Regions from separate parts of the Homo sapiens genome. Here region 1 is linked to region 2. Evidence: promoter capture Hi-C in 16 types of primary human blood cells and fetal thymus (Javierre and others, 2016). All regions are on one chromosome and are shown on one strand. The core of a region is centred on a gene start or on the middle of the fragment in contact, and the rest is flanking DNA. Distances in the headings are between cores, read along the strand shown. Region 1 has its middle 200 kb from the start of LINC01608. Region 2 holds the start of CSMD3 (CUB and Sushi multiple domains 3).

Evidence for each region. Contacts are between HindIII fragments. The CHiCAGO score rates a contact against its expected background, and 5 or more counts as called.
Region 1: a fragment that was not itself captured here is called in contact with the fragment with the promoter of CSMD3 in region 2 in 1 of 17 cell types (endothelial precursors); the score reaches 11.7 in endothelial precursors.

What each region holds. Positions count from the first base shown.
Region 1 is chr8:110,825,325-110,828,099 of GRCh38, forward strand. No RefSeq gene overlaps it. Among named protein-coding and RNA genes, the nearest start is that of LINC01608, 200 kb to the right of the region's middle. The HindIII fragment of the contact is 2,024 bases long and covers 506-2,529 here.
Region 2 is chr8:113,435,685-113,438,384 of GRCh38, forward strand. It overlaps CSMD3 (CUB and Sushi multiple domains 3), which reads right to left and starts at 1,255. Exons shown (of 71, transcript NM_198123.2): 1 at 993-1,255. The coding sequence starts at 1,170. RefSeq lists enhancers at 1-349, 2,127-2,176, 2,189-2,689. The HindIII fragment of the contact is 6,354 bases long and covers 1-2,700 here.

The sequences.
Region 1 (2,775 bases), core at 268-2,767, 2.6 Mb before region 2:
ATCTTGTCAACTTCCTGGCTCTCATACTTTGTGCTCTGTGACTATATACCTAAGGTCTCAAGGAAACTGATTTTGAAAAATATTTACAAATTCTTATAAATAAATATTATAGATCTTATTATTTGACTAAATGAATATATTATCTCAAAAATAATTGTTGATTACTCTTTTTGGCCTAATAATTAGACAGAGGCTATAGCAATACAAATTAAAAAAGAAAATATTCAGACTTTCAGGAGTATATGTTGTGGGGCCCAAGTGAATTTTCCAAATCCATAAATATATCATTTATTTCAAATAGTGTGCTATTGAACAGCAAAGTCAATTTGATATTAGTTTCTGAAGAGCCCCCAAAAAGCCAATTGCCAATTGGCAATTAGCAAGACTACCATTTTTAGTCTAGATGCTCAAAAGAAAGTGCTGAGGTCAAAAAGGGTGAAAAGAGTTAATCTGTAGTTTAGCTTGATCTTTAGTTTTGTAACATTACCATTGAACTGTAATCCAAAGCTTTTTGTTCAATAATAATATTTTCCCTTGAACAATTGTGTTGTAAGTCTGTGCACAGTAGGCTTCTAAAATGTTAAGACATGTTTATATACACATTTACACTTTAAAAAGTAGGTCTCTCAGTGAATAAATTTTCATTTATCTATACAATATTCTTTCTACTTGTAAAAATGTTTCATTCCAGTGTTCATGTTTAAGAATGCCTATAATTAATTGTTTGTAATAGTCATCCATCAAGAATAAAATTGCAAAATAAATATTTTACATACGTATAATAAATATCAGAGAAGAATGAAAACTAAAAATTATAAATTATGACAGGGATTAATCTATAAAACATAATATGAAGCAAACAAGACAACATCAAATATAATACATCCGTTAAGATTGTATCCACATTAGTTTAAATTGAGCAAAACTTAACTCTGTTATGTAGAGATGCATACAACTATTAAACAAAAAAGCATAAAAATAATTATCAAAAGGTAAAGCACAGGGATTACCTCTAAGAAAAGCAATGACAATTAAAAACATATATTTTAATAAAAGTAAAAAATGTTAATCTGATTTTACAATTTGCGATTGAATAAATTTTTTTGTTCAACCCTCCTGAAATTAACTCCTCTGATCTCACTGTGCCATTTAGACAACCCCAAATAATGCTATTTTCTTTGAGAAATATGTAATTTACACACATAAAACCCACCATCATCCAAAAATTTAAAAGAATATAATTCACTCAAAATTTTGCAATGTACATTTTTCATAAAAAGAAAGGGCATTTTAGCAGCCAATCTTGTCAATTTTCCTTAGGAAACTTCACTCCCTGCATCACATTTATAATTTGTATTAATAAGAAAACAAACTTATTTTTCTGGTGTTTCAAAAATTGCATATTCTGTTGCCATCAAACTAATCATCAAGTAACTTGTTTAGGTCATTTTTTTCCTTTTTTTTTTTTGTTCCTTAGGCTGGAGTCAATAGTGTTAGCTCACTGCAACCTCCGCCTCCCAGGTTCAAGGGATTCTACTGCCTCAGCCTCCCGAGTAGCTGGGATTACAGGCACCCATCACCATGCTCGGCTAATTTTTTGTGTTTTTTAGTAGAGATGAGGTTTCACCATGTGGGCCAGGCTGGTCTCAAACTCCTGAACTCAAGTGATCACCCCACCTCAGCCTCCCAAAGCATGCTTGTTTTCTTTAAAAATGACTATATTACCACCTTGTTTGAATTTTTCTAAGAAATTGAAATTTCATTGTCTATCCAGATTATATTTTCTCTTGCCTTGAAACATGCCTTGTAATTTGTTGTTGTTGTTGGAAGTCAGACATGTTATATTTGGAAATAGAAATTGTGTATAAGAGTTTACATTTACGAGGCTGAAAGTTGTTTAGTCTTTACTGTTTGCTGTGCGCACCAATGCATGACTTCAATTTCCTCTACTGTCCTTGTTTTGTCTTTCCTGTTGTCTTTAGGTTTCCCTAGAAATTCTTCATTAAATATAGTCTGAGCCTTGTAGTTCTATCAGATGTAATCTTCTGCTGTGACACAGATACTCTGTTGATGTGGTGGTAAGGTGTGTGGGGAGAGGAAGCCTTCAATCATGCCATGATTCAGTCTCAGTCTTTTAGTGGGCCTGTGTCCCTAGGGTGTGATGTTTGTAAGTGCCCCTCAGTCCCTCCCTCCTCCCACACCACACACATAGACTGACACCATACACACAGAACTAACTTTCTCAACTAAGACCAGAGAAGGCTGAAACTGAGTATTTACCTACCTTTACTTTAGTTAACTTCTTGCAAAGTGGTTTCCTTTGAGGACAGAGAAAAATAATCTTTTAGTATATTTCAAATTGGTTACTTTCTCATGAGCATTCTCCATGATGGTTAGTTTTCCTCTCCTTTTGCTGAAGCATGAGGGGCTTTTTTCATATTTTCACCACGAGAATCTGGATGAGCTCCTGGGGATAAAGCTCACTACAGTGACCCTTAAGGCTGAATCTTCAGTAGTTTTTAACTCTGAAGCTTCTACACACAACGTGACCAACACTTGATCAGCAACCATTTAAGTTTTCCTCTTCTTCCTCTTCTAGCATCTTCTGTTCTTGGTGAGCTGAAACTTTCTGTATTTGAAAGTCTCTCTGGTTTTAAGAGCATCAGTCCGTTATGTAACCTTAATTCTAGGATGCACTTAAGAATGCTTTTTGATTTTTAGTTTGTTCAGTTTTTCTTTTTTCTTGAAGGAAGGATGACAGTGATGCCTTCTAAG
Region 2 (2,700 bases), core at 5-2,504:
CTATTCGAGCTGCCATGAGTATGGAGAGGTGATTGTTCAAAAAATGATGGCATGAGTCATAAACACCTCCTGAGTATTCTTTGCAGCAATTAATGGGCAGCAGGGTGCCGGAGAAGTTGTGGAAGAGAGCTATGGATCTATTTTCTCCCTAAGGACAGCTCTTTTTCCCATGATCCTGACTGTCCCTTGCCTTCCTGCTTGGGAATACATTTTTACATCCCACCTACCCCCTCCCCTATCTGTGCATGTGACACTCACTCTACCTGTCTGAACGCTGAGACTTGCTGGGGATTTTCTTTTGGTCGTCAGCTAATGACTTTCCTCCTACCTCATTCATCCCTTAAGGTGGTTCTTTACACTTCATGGCATTTCAGACCCTTCGAAAGCCTCATTTTTTGCCAAACCTCTACCACAGGTCCTAGGGAAGCTCCCCTACATTTAACATTGCATAGAAGCCCAATTTACATACATATGCATGCAGACATTCATGTTGATGTGGCAGTGCTTGGAAGATCCCTGTGCCCTAATGCATTTAAAATCAACACATTCCTAGCACGTCGATAACTTTCTTCCCTGAAAGGGTTAAAAAGCATTTAGACCAGCGTCTTTAATATATATATTCCACCCAAAGCCTCAAGCCCTAGTGATCTGACAAGAAATCAAGGTAATCCTCACCACTAAGAAAAGTCTTGCAGAGGAATTCTGCCTGGATATCCACTAGTTAGAGGCTATACTAACCAACTCACGTATTCGTTTGAGCATACTGCAAGAATATTTATTGAGCACAAGCTCAATCACCGCATTGAACGCCAAATCTGGCAAGCAAAATGCATTTCCTATCTGAGGGGGGGAGAACGAGCTGTGAATCAACTCCTTTAGTATTATCAGATTATTTTATCGGTGCAAATTGCAAAGTAAGCTGCCAGCCTCTCTCCATCTACAAGTCAGCCCACCTCCATCCAAAGCGGAGGGGACCCCCAAAGCAGACCTACCTTTCACACAAGACACCGTCAATAAAAAGACGAGGTTCCAAAACGTAAATCCACTTTTAATCCCCATTTTCTTCATCAGGATGAAGTCTAGGCGGCCACATTTAGCGCATCTTCGCTTGCCAGGCTCCCAGGGTTTGGATTCCTTTGCTCGGCTTTCCCCTTTGCGGATCCCTTTCATATTATTCGCGAGCTCCTAATTCCTGCTCCTCAGCCCGGCGCAGTGGAGTTGTTGCTGTTGTTGGTGCGCGGTCACAGCTCGGAGTGAATGGTGTTTCTGGGATACCACAGCAACCTTGACGAGGACTCAACCATCTCTCCAACGGGGGCACAAAGTCTCCGCTACTCTGGATTCTGTCTTTTCTTGTGCGTTTTTTCCCCTCCACCAAAATCTACCCCAATTCTGGCTCGTTATAGCAACCACCAGAAACCACTAGTGAGCCTCTTAAAGCCCACCTCTGCTCTCTGATAAACTCCACACAATATTTGAAATTAAGGGGCTTGCTTTTTTTCCCCGAATAGATCAATTCTGCCTGTAAAAGCAGCCCAAGAAATAATGTTAGTGAGCTCTCCGTTGCAGGCTGCGAATACAGAAGCATGTCAAAGGAATATTTTAATCGGAGGATCTGTGTTGCTTTTGGGGAAACCGTGACGATAATGAATCGGGCTCCATCGATGCCCACGTCGTTATAATGGGACATGTGTTACTACTGTAGTTGCAGTATATTTCAGGCAGGCTTCTCCCATTTATTATCCTGTGATTTAATTGAAAAAGGAAATCACAGAGAATTTTCTCAATAAATTCTGCCTTCACACGGAAAAGAATGTATTTGAACACATGTATTTACATACTCAAATAACTACGTGTAAACCCTTCACCGGGTTTTTATGATTCGGGAAACGGATTTCATCCGTGGCCTGGGCGGGGGTGGGGTGGGGAGGGAAGTCAATGTCGTTTCCTCAAATAGTTCTCCCTTTCATCCTCCCAACCCCCTTTTCAGTTTGTGTGTGCCGCAGTTAAACTACTTTATCTGTGGTAGTTATCTAGAACAAACCCATTTGTCTTAATTCTGAATCGGTACCAAATATGTAAATAGGAGGTTTCTTTCAAAACGAAAAATGTATGTATCTATACATCTGGATCTGCTTCCCCCATGCACCACGCAAGGGTTAAGATTGCACAAGGGAAGAGTTCTTGCGCCATCTACTGGCCGTCTCCGAGCCGCCCGTTCTTCCTTCGCATGTATAAGGGACCCTGTTTTTGCCATCCCTTGGTGTCAGGGGAGCTGTGTCCCCGGGACCAGTATGTCGTGCTCCTTGATTTTTTTCGACCACGGTCCTGGCCCAAATCTTTCAATGAACAAGTTCCTTAGATTAGGCAACTGATTGGTGATCTGACCTTTTCGGGAATCTGGTCCCCTCTCAGCAGTGGGGAGTGCCACAGCGCTAGTTCTGAAACAGGATATTGCTGTTGCGTGTGGCTCCATTTAACTGCCTCAGGCTATCATGGGCGTGAGCGTCTATCAACAAGGCTTAGTCTAGAGGACTGCCCAACTTGAGTTTGCAGCTCCCTGCACTGTGCACAAATAATGGGTTTGGTCCCGTGCACCACAGCATTACCCTGGCCAGCTTTGTCCCTTGGCTCGCGTTGGAGCTGCCCGCTCAGCAGAGGAAGGCGTTAGAATCTGGAAGGAGTTCCGCTCTGGGAAGT